Linked DNA regions of Homo sapiens: region 2 is linked to region 1. The links are contacts of gene promoters, found by promoter capture Hi-C in blood cells and fetal thymus (Javierre and others, 2016). All regions are on one chromosome and are shown on one strand. The core of a region is centred on a gene start or on the middle of the fragment in contact, and the rest is flanking DNA. Distances in the headings are between cores, read along the strand shown.

Region 1 (5,535 bases), core at 1,330-3,829:
ACATGTTGAAACCCCATCTCTACTAAAAATACAAAAATTAGCTGGGCATGGTGGCAGGCACTTGTAATACCAGTCATTCGGGAAACTGAGGCAAGATAATCGCTTGAACCTGGGAGGCGGAGGTTGCAGTGAGCCAAGATCTCGCCGTTGCACTCCAGCCTGGGCAACAGAGTGAGACTCTGTCTGGGGGGGGGGGGGGGGGCGGAATCTGTGCTATCAAGAGAAATAAAATGAGATCATTTTGAAGGGAGAAAAGGGGTGAGGGTGAAAGCAGGAGAAAGTTATGGCCACTTCCACCCAGTATTTCTATTAAAACACAAATGCACTTCCAGAATTTTGTAAAAAGAGCAAAAAGGACTGAAAGTAAATTGTATAAAATCAAGATGATATGTCCATTTGCAAAAATAGTTTGTAAGTCTAAAGGTAATAACAGCAGATAGCTCCAGAGTAAAAATTTTAGTCTATAAAAAGTAGTCAGGTATACCTGAAGGTAGAATTCATTGGCATAGTGTATTTTAGTTTATTTTTTAATTTTATTTGCGACGGAGTTTTGCTCTGTTGCCCAGGCTGGAGTGCAGTGAGGTGATCTAGGCTCACTGCAACCTTTGCCTCCTGGCTTCCAGCAATTCTGCCTCAGCCTCCCGAGTAGCTGGGACTACGGGCACATGCTACCACGCCCCCCCTAATTTTTGTACTGTTAGTAGAGACGGGGTTTCACACTATGTTAGCCATGCTGGTTTTGAATTCCTGACTTCAAGTGATCTGCCCTCCTATATAGGTATAGATATAGATCAGTGCCTCCTATATAGGTAAACAATAAATATAATTATTTGTTGATACATTTCTTAGAATATTAATGTAACCCCAAAATTACTGGTAGGATAAATAAGACTTGGATCAACAGTGAACATATGCTTTGCATGTATGAAGTTTTTCAATATGACCCTGCTAATCTCCAAATGCCTAAGGGCGGGCAATATCCCCAAAGACTAGAACAATGCGTGGCCAAATATGTTAAATACACACACACACACACACACACACACACACACACACACACACAAAATTCCCCTGTGAAACTGGCCTACATTTCTAAATCACAAATTTAGCCAGGTAACAACCTAGCTTAAAATTCGTGGACTCTTTCTTTCACTTGGTTCTTCCAAAAAAGTTTCACACTGCTCATCACCGGCATAGTCATTCTAGCCTCTAATCACACAATAAAACCCACCACCTAATTCTAACCCACCACCTAACACTTAGCTCAAACCCTGTGCTGCTGGGGAAGTTCCCTTCTCCTCTACTCCAACTTCTTGCTTCGGGGCGGACTGTCTCTAGTCTGTCTGTTGTCTCCCCTCTGAATCTACTTGCTTTTCATTTTCCTTTTCTATAAGCTTTCTTGTCAAAAGGAAAAATTACTGATTGGACCAATTGACGCTGAACATGCCTTAAAAACTAGTAAACTATTCCAAAAATCTCCGTGATGATTTCATGTTCCGTTTCTTCACTCCTGAGAAAAGCTGTGCTCCTCCCCTTACCCTTGCAGACTATCCTGCCTGGTGGTCTGGCATCTTCCCGATGTCCCGTGGGCTGCAGAGATGGAATCAGGGGGTGAGGGGGAAGCAAAGCAAGGCAGAGCTGGGTACAGCCTAGAAGAGGTTAAATAAGGTAACTGCTCGAGCGAAAGCCATACGTACTGGAACGCCATCGGGAACCAAATTTACTAATATATAAACTCACGTTAGAACGCCATTACATGGTGGAAAGTACACGTGACACAATAGGCTTTCAACAAGTTCTAACAGGAAGTCACAGCACTCGACACAACGGAAGTATCCATTTTCGCGCCAAGAGCCAGGAAGCACTTTCTGTTAACACAAGTTTCCTGCACATCCCTAATTTTTTAGGCGCCATATTCCTCACTCAGTACTAACAAAGTGTATGTGGCTTCTCCTTAGCCAGACTCGATTACAAGCACTGCATGCATTACTCAGTGTGATAAGATCATGATAATCCCTTTAAAAAGATCGCCCGAATTTAAGCCTGGATTAGGAACACGTGTTTACAGCTCTAATATCGATAATTTAAGTGGCTCTTAAAAGAGCCTTTGGGGTTGGGCTTTAAGACGCTTACTTGGCAAGTTTACTTAGCGCTGGTGTACTTGGTGACGGCCTTGGTGCCCTCGGACACGGCGTGCTTGGCCAACTCCCCGGGCAGCAGCAGGCGCACGGCCGTCTGGATCTCCCTGGAGGTGATGGTCGAGCGCTTGTTGTAATGCGCCAGGCGGGAAGCCTCACCCGCGATGCGTTCGAAGATGTCGTTGACGAAGGAGTTCATGATTCCCATGGCCTTAGAGGAGATGCCGGTGTCGGGGTGGACCTGCTTCAGCACCTTGTACACGTATACGGAGTAGCTCTCCTTGCGGCTGCGCTTGCGCTTCTTGCCGTCCTTCTTCTGCGCCTTAGTCACGGCTTTCTTCGAGCCCTTCTTGGGCGCGGGAGCGGACTTCGCTGGTTCCGGCATGTTGAAGGCGAACTACGAGCCTGAGACGAGCAGCAGATCGAGAAAACGGGAAGTAATGGGAGCAAGGTACCAGGAGTCGTTTTTATATAGGACCTCTCATGCAAATAAGGTGAAGAGTGAAAGTCCTGTATCTGATTGGTGGTTATTAGGGTGACGTCAGAGGTTAGTTATACCCAATCAACCCAATCTGCAAATCCAAAAGACGTACTTCCATTGGTTAAAACTAAGCTACAACCCTAACCAATGACATATCTTCTTTTTCGCGCCCAATAGTGTTTATAAAAGGCGCTGCCTTTCCTCGTTGGCTACTTTCAGTAAGTTGTGACCAGTATGTCTGGACGTGGCAAGCAAGGCGGTAAAGCTCGCGCCAAGGCCAAGACCCGCTCTTCTCGGGCTGGGCTTCAGTTCCCCGTGGGCCGAGTGCACCGCCTGCTCCGCAAGGGTAATTATGCCGAGCGGGTTGGAGCCGGCGCGCCAGTGTACCTGGCTGCGGTGCTGGAGTACCTGACCGCTGAGATCCTGGAGCTGGCTGGCAATGCGGCCCGCGACAACAAGAAGACCCGTATCATCCCGCGTCACCTCCAACTGGCCATCCGCAACGACGAGGAGCTCAACAAGCTGCTGGGCAAAGTCACCATCGCGCAGGGTGGTGTCTTGCCCAATATCCAGGCCGTGCTGCTGCCTAAGAAGACTGAGAGCCACCATAAGGCCAAATAAGGAGCGAGGTTGTGAAAACTGGAAAACAAAGGCTCTTTTCAGAGCCATTCTACACTGTCTTAGAGAAAGCTGGACACAGTCATGTTTGTTTCACTTCATGTTTGCTTCGCTAGATAACATTGTAAAGCGCTTCTTTCGCGGTTGGGCTGGAGCAACTCTTTACAATGTTTCTAAATTAACCCACTGGAAAGCAATGAAGACCCAAAAGTTGTTGTAGGATACTCCGGAGAAGCTTATTCAGCAGGGGTAATAAGTGAAATCAAACGTACAAATCCCTGAAATCTATTTACTAATTCCAGTGGTTTTTTTTTTTTTTTTTTTTTTTTTGAGATGGAGTCTCCAACAGGCTGGAGTGCAGTGGCGCGGCGCGATCTCGGCTCACTGCAACCTCCACCTCCCAGGTTCAAGCGATTCTCCTGTCTCGGCCTCCCGAATAGCTGGGATTACAGGCACACACCACCACGACCGGCTAGTTTTTTTGTATTTTTAGTGGAGACGGGGTTCCACCATGGTGGCCAGGCTGGTCTCGAACTCCTGACCTCAGGTGATCCGCCCGCCTCGGCCTCCCAAAGTGCTGGGATTACAGGCGTGAGCCACAGCGCCCGGCCTCCAGTGTAATAATTCTATTACATTAATAGTGTTGTCAAACAGCCATAAAAATGGGATATACTTGCCATTCTTTAAAGGCAAATTTTGCAATTCTAAGTATTCTTGAAAAGCAAGAAAGGGCAGCCTGATTCTTAAGTGGTCTAACTCTTAAGAGTAACTTTACCCAGGTGATGAAAGTCTAGTGACTCATTTGCATTAGAATTTGATTCCGATGGAAGGAGAATATGGGATGCAGAATTTCCTGAATCCCATATTTGTAAATCCTTAGTCCCATTTCTTTGGAGCAGGTGTATTAATGCACTCTTGTAGTAGCTTAGGATACAACATAGCTTTTTCTGTCTAGCTAATTTGTATTATCAAATTTATTAGATCGGGATTGCTATTGCTTTTGATTGCTTGTCCACATTAATTTACCTACCCTAGGAAGCCCTATGAGTTTCCTTCCTCCGCCCCACCCCCTCTTGATATTACTTGGCCTGCTTTTACTTCATAGCCTCAAGGCTTTCTGGCTATTCCCACAAAATGCCAAACACATTTTCTGTCTTAAGGCCTTTGCACTTTAAATTCCCTCTTCCCCTGATAACTACCTTTCTCACTTTTTTTCAATCTATGTAGGTCTCTGATCAAGTAACACCTATAAAGAGGTCATCTTTGTTTATCTCCTCTCTAAAATGGAGGGCCCCATTACGCTCTCTATGCCTATGGGGATAGGATATATATTAATTGAAATATTACATGTATACATCTTTATTTTTTCTCTACGGAATTCAAGCCACTTAAAAAAGACACCAAAAAATAGTATTAACTTTATGTATTTCACAAAGATTTAAGAGGACATAGTTTGTAATTCAATACACATAGATTTGTTTGCTACTCCCAGTCTTTGCATGCAGAAGCCCAATTGAAAAAGAAATGCAAGAGATGCAGAACGAGAAATTATAATGTAGTGACATATGAGTTCTCGATAAACAGATGCTGAGATGGAGTTTGGGATGCAAAATGTTTATTAGGGCTCAATATCTGTGAAGGGGTGAAGGAAATAGGATTGGGCAAAGGAAAATGTCAAACTATGATACAGGCCAGACAAATGCTCAACCAACCCAGTGGAGAGCTCTGGAGCCAGTATGCCTGTCAAGTTGCCCCCACATTGGGCCAAAGGGGCTCTAGACCACCCTTTTTAACTCCTCTGTGGGTCACTGAATGAGGACTGCCCGGGGAAGGATGCAGCCTTGAGTGGGGAGGAGCTCTGCAGCTGAGGCAAACACTGAGGAAGCTAACAGCTGGTGTCTATCTGCTAACTGTGCTCTCTGCAGTTGGGCTGCAAGCCCTTCCTTGAAGGAGGATCTGGGCAGTGTATTTCCATGTCTATGACATATATTAACATGAATATAAATATCAATGTTAAGTAAGGTCTATGATAGTATCTGTGAGACTGACTTTAGCATGCATAAGTGCATAGCTGGTATTGCTCTTTGACTTTTTTTCTTTTTCTTTTTTTTTTTTTTGAGATGAAGTTTTGCTCTTCTTGCCCAGGCTGGAGTGCAATGGCCTGATCTCGGCTCACTGCAACCTCCACCTCCCAGATTCAAGCGATTCTCCTGCTTCAGCCTCCTGAGTAGCTGGGATTACTGGTGTGTGCCACCACTCCCGGCTAATTTTGTAATTTTAGTAGAGTCAAGGTTTCAC
Region 2 (5,535 bases), core at 1,417-3,916, 540 kb after region 1:
CTGTGTGTTTCTCCAGGCTTAACTTTGCCCCGAGAAAACGGATCTGTGAATTTGGTGCGCCCTCGCTTACTCGACAGCGGTTAATTTGAACGGGGACGTTTCTTTCCGCTGCCTCCAAGGCATACCCACATCCTACCCGTAAAACAAAGGGGCTATAGGCACCTTACAGTGACAGAGGTACGTTACGGTTGGAGGCTTTTGTGATTTTTGTCCTCCTCTGCCCCGGGGAAATTTTCTTGGAGTAAAATACTGAATTATTTGATTACTTCCAAAAAAAAAAAAAAAAACGCATGTAAAACCACCCACCGTTTGTATCACTCATGCTGGGTCATTCCGTTTTCTTCATTTCAGTCTAAGAGAAAACAAGATTATAAAGTGAGAAAGAAAAATTTTCAAAAACTTCAACGATAACAATGACAAAGATCTTTGTTTTATATACTCTGAACGCTTATTCCAATGTGAACAGGATACATACCTTTAAAAATATTTTTCTAATTTAAGAGTTTTTTAAAAAATAAATAACACCTTATTATTATACAAAGAAACATTTTAAAGACAATTTAAAAAGATATAGTAAAAAGTTCTCTTTTCTTTCTTTCTTTTTTTTTTTTTTTTTTTTTTTTTTTTTTTTGAGACAGAGTCTTGCTCTGTAGCCCAGGCTGGAGTGCAGTGGGCCGATCTTGGCTCACTGCAGCCCCTGTCTCCCAGGTTCAAGCTATTCTCCTGCCTCAGCCTCCCGAGTAGCTGGGATTATAGGCGTGCAGCACCATGTCTGGCTAATTTTTGTATTTTTAGTAGAGACGGGGTTTCGCCATGTTGGCCAGACTGGTCTCGAACTCCTAAGCTCAGGCGATCCACCCACCTCGGCCTCACAAAGTGCTGGGATTACAGGCGTGAGCCACGCTGCCTGGCCTTTCCTTCCATTTTTATTCTTCATCAGCTCAATTCTCACCACCACCTACTATAGGTAAACTCTGTCCTTAATTTCTCATATATCCCTACTGGGTTTCTTTATTTAAATACTGCATTTATATTGATTATTTTTTCTTCTTTTTCACACAAAAGAGAGCTTAGTTATTTACTCGTTGTTCTGCATTTACACTTTTTCTTAATGTATCTTAGATGTTTTAAATTGCACTTTTCAACTTTGTACACTGTTAAAAGCAGAGCTTATTTGGGAGGCCTAGGCGGGTGGATCACGAGGTCAGGAGATAAAGACCATCCAGCCAACATGGTGAAACCCTGTCTCTACTAAAAATACAAAAATTAACCGGGTGTGGCAGCACGCGCCTGTAGTCCCAGCTACTCGGGAGGCTGAGGCAGGAGAATTGCTTGAACCAGGGAGGCCGAGGCTCCAGTGAGCCAAGATCATGCCACTGCATTCCAGCCTAGGCGACAGAGCGAGACTCCATCTGAAAAAAAAAAAAAATCAGCTTATTTTCAAATGAGTTGATCCTACTAGCCAGGAATTGAATATAGATACTTCTTGTCCACTGTACAAAGTACAGGCTTTTTCATCGTAGGAAAGAGGGTGGTGAAGACGATACCCTTAATTTTCTCTTATAAGGTGAACAAAGCACTTTCTTTCCTAGACCATATGATCATCAAAGAGGTTTGAATATGGGCTCCCAAGCTGTACAATAATCAAAGGAAATTATATATAATTTCAACAAACATTTATTGATCTCTCACTCTTCGGTGTGGCAATCCGCTGTCTCTAGTGAAAAGATATGAAGGAAATAATGTTAAGTAACAAACTAGAGTACAAAAATATGTGTGTGCATGAATATTATATATGTATATATGTGTGTGTGTGCATATGTGTGTGTGTGTGTGTGTGTATATATATATATAGATATAGATATAGATTTTTTTTAGACACTGTAGCTCTATTGCCCAGGCTGGAGTGCAGTGGCATGATCTTGGCCAACTGCAACTGTGCCCAGCTGAAAGCCACTCCATCTTGGATGGTAACCCACCATATTGACTTCTGATTAACCCCAGTTCTGGGAATGCCTCTAAGATTTCTACTTTGAGGTACAATAAATCCTGCAATTAGGTGAAAACAACCTTGGTGTTATTGTAACCACATACTTACCATACACAAATCCTGCCCTTAGGCTAGGCGCGGTATGTCATGCCTATAATCCCAACACTTTGGGAGGCCGAGGTGGGCAGATTACTTGAGGTCCAGAGTTTGAGACCTGCCTGGCCAACATGGTGAAATGCCATCTCTACCAAAAACACAAAAATTAGTTGGGCATGGTGGGGCGTGCCTATAGTCCCAGCTACTCCAGAGGCTGAGGAAAGAGAATCGCTTGACCTGGGAGGCAGAGGTTGCAGTGAGCCAAGATCTGGCCATTCCAGCCTGGGCGACAGAAGGAGACCGTCTCAAAAGAAAAGAAAAAAAAAAATCCTGCCCTTAGGCAAATTCCCTGTGGTTCATAAGCCCTGGGTTTGGCTGGTGACAATGTGGGGATCCATCATCTTGTCTTGCTACCACTCAAGACATGGCTTCTGTTATTAAATGTTTCTTTCTGAGAAACTGAATTTGTCAGCCTCTTTCTTTGGCCTCTCAGCTTCCTCAGCCTTTAGGAGTAGACTTGTATAGACCTGCTCACGGTGGAATAAGACTGAAAGCAAACGACATCAGATTCTAACAGCTTTCAGAGGTAATGGTGGTGGGCAAGAGAAAGATACTCTTTCTGCATCAGACGTCTCATCAGCAACCTCGAATGAATGTTAGGAGAAAACAAAATAATGCCTCAAAATCTGGAGGAAAAATGTTTTAATACAGAATTCTATAGCTATGTGTAACATCAAATGTGAAGTTGGAATAAAGACATTTATAAACCTATCATGACTCAAAAAGCTGACCTACATTTTAAGACGCAAACTGAATATATATACTACAGGGAAAATAGGGGGGAAGACAGAGAAAGACATGGAACTCAGGAAATGATGAATCTGATCTAGGAGCTCAAAAATGAAAAACACAGGATGACAGCTATTCAAGAAACCTAGAATGCAACTAATCCATACGGGAGCAGGAAGCTAAAGGACTCAGAGAAGATTTACCAGATTTACCAGACAGGAGGGGATCATGCAGAATAGATTTAATTGAGAACTTGGTAAGTGTTAAGGATGTTGCATTAGAATGTATCATTCAGCTGCGAAATAAAAAATAAAAATGGGAAAAAGGAAGAATAATCCAATTGGCTTAGGACAGAAATACATCTCACGTGACAGGAACTACAGAGGTACTCTGACTCTTTCTCTGTGATTGGCACTGTTCTACCACATCTGGTGTTGGTATTACCCTTAAGCTGTCTAATCTTACAACTATAGTTAATACTGCTGCCACAAGCAGCAAAGTGGTTTTTCCCCATGCATTGAAGGAAAGTCATAACCCCTCCTCCCAATTATGAAAATATTATTATGCCAATTTAGGTCCCTTAAAGATTACATTGAACCTTAAACTTTTCTATGTAACAAACAAAATGCAGGTACTTTTACAGTGGTCATAGAACCAATTTATATATAATTTTTAAAGAATGATTAATAAGCAAGGCCATGAGATGGATGTTTATATTACACAGGAGATACAACTACATGTTTTGGAATTCTGAATTTAACAGGTGGTTGTTTCCTTTTGTTTTACAGATAGTCCTTCGAGATATTATTACAGTTAGTTAGAGAATTAAGAACAGGAGCTTTCTTAAAGATAATACAGGGACAACTGTGACTTTTCTCTCCATATGAATAAAAATTTACATTTTTCCTATCTTCTATTTTATGGCCAGAGAAAACTCTGAGTATTCAGATTTATCCCAAAAGTTTCTAAAATGACCAAACTGTTCAGAATCATGCTTTTTTCCCTTTTCTTTCTTTCTTTTTTTTTTTTGTTTTTTGTTTTTTGTTTTTTGAGATGGAGTCTTGCTCTGTTGTCCAGGCTGGAGTGCAGTGGTGGGATCTCAGCTCACCGCAACCTCCGCTATCTTGGTTCAAGAGATTCTCTTGCGTCAGCCTCTCCAGTAGCTAGGATTACAGGCACCCGCTACCACACTCAGCTAGTTTTTGTATTTTTAGTAGAGTTGGGGTTTCACCATGTTGGCCAGGCTGGTCTCGAAGTCGTGACCTCAAGTGATCTGCCTGCCTCGGCCTCCCAGAGTGCTGGGATTACAGGCGCGAGCCACCACGCCTGAGCAGAATCATGCTCTTAATTGTACTTGAAAAACAAAACTTTATCTGAAAAAACTTTCTGAGTTTTTGTTTGTATGTTTTTGTTTCTGCTAAAGCTCAAAGTTTCTGACCCTAGGCAAGTTTTTATTAGTCATAGTGCATTAATAACAAATAAATACAAATAGGGCTAATAGGAAAAAAAGGACTAAGAAACTAAGAGGTAAGAAACAGAAGAATGACAGGTTTTGCTTTAAGGAAAAGTGGAGTGGCCCGGCCTTGGTGGCTCATGCCTGTAATCCCAGCACTTTGGGAGGCCGAGGCGGGTGGATCACGAGGTCAGGAGTTTGAGACCAGCCTGGCCAAGGTGGTGAAACCTCGTCTCTACTAAAAATACAAAAATTAGCCAGGTGCGGTGGTGGGTGCCTGTAATCCCAGCTACTCGGGAGGCTGAGGAGGCTGAGGCAGGAGAATCGCTTGAACACGGGAGGTGGAGGTTGCAGTGAGCCGAGGTCGCGCCACTGCACTCTAGCCTGGGCGACAGAGCAAGATTCCGTCAAAAAAAAAAAAAAATTAAAAAGATTTGCTTCCAACCACATAAGGGGAGGAGTGGTTTATAGATTAATAAAATTGCCACGAGTTGGTATTTCTTTTCTTTCATCTTGTTTTCTTTCTTTTTTTTTTTTTTTTGAGGCGCAGTTTCGCTGTTGTTGCCCAGGCTGGAGTGCAATGGCGCTATCTCGGCTAATCACAACCTCCGCCTCCTGGGTTTAAGCGATTCTCCTGCCTCAGCCTCCCTAGTAGCTGGGATTGCAGGCATGCACCACCACATCCGGCTAATTCTTTTTATTTTTAGTAGAAACAAGGTTTCTCCATTTTGGTCAGGCTGGTCTCAAACTCCCAACCTCAGGTGATCCGCCCACCTCGGCCTCCCAAAGTGCTGGGATTACAGGCGTGAGCCACCGCGCCAGGCCTTCTTCTTCTTTTTTTTTTTTTTTTTTTTTTTTTTTTGAGAGGAGTCTTGCACTGTCGCGCGGGCTGGTGTGCAGTGGTGTCATCTCGGCTCGCTGCAACCTCCGCCTCCAAGGTTCAAGCGATTCTCCTGCCTCAGTCTCCCGAGTAGCTAGGATTACAGGCGCCCGCCACCACGCCCAACTAGTTTTTTGTATTTTTAGTACAGACGAGGTTTTACTATGTTGGCCAGGTTGGTTTCGAACTCCTGACCTTGTGATCCGCCCGTCTCGGCCTCCCAAAGTGTTGGGATTACAGGCGTGAGCCACCGCGCCCGGCCGAGTTAGTAATTCTTGAAGGTGTGTCAGGTACATTGGATGCACTGTACTATTCTGTCTACCTTTG

Evidence for each region. Contacts are between HindIII fragments. The CHiCAGO score rates a contact against its expected background, and 5 or more counts as called.
Region 2: a fragment that was not itself captured here is called in contact with the fragment with the promoter of H2BC12 in region 1 in 11 of 17 cell types (erythroblasts, fetal thymus, megakaryocytes and 8 more); the score reaches 11.9 in erythroblasts.

The regions. Positions count from the first base shown.
Region 1 is chr6:27,144,276-27,149,810 of GRCh38, forward strand. It overlaps H2BC12 (H2B clustered histone 12), which reads right to left and starts at 2,580. Exons shown (of 1, transcript NM_001312653.2): 1 at 2,086-2,580. The coding sequence starts at 2,523. The coding sequence ends at 2,143. H2AC12 (H2A clustered histone 12) reads left to right here and starts at 2,831. Exons shown (of 1, transcript NM_080596.3): 1 at 2,831-3,287. The coding sequence starts at 2,854. The coding sequence ends at 3,240. MIR3143 (microRNA 3143) reads left to right here and starts at 3,351; the gene lies at 3,351-3,413. RefSeq lists enhancers at 1,478-1,587, 2,007-2,923, 2,178-2,637, 2,968-3,217 and a silencer at 4,997-5,046. The HindIII fragment of the contact is 2,078 bases long and covers 1,393-3,470 here.
Region 2 is chr6:27,688,326-27,693,860 of GRCh38, forward strand. No RefSeq gene overlaps it. Among named protein-coding and RNA genes, the nearest start is that of TRI-AAT2-1, 2.9 kb to the left of the region's middle. RefSeq lists a cis regulatory region at 1-337 and a silencer at 1-109. The HindIII fragment of the contact is 6,174 bases long and covers 1-5,535 here.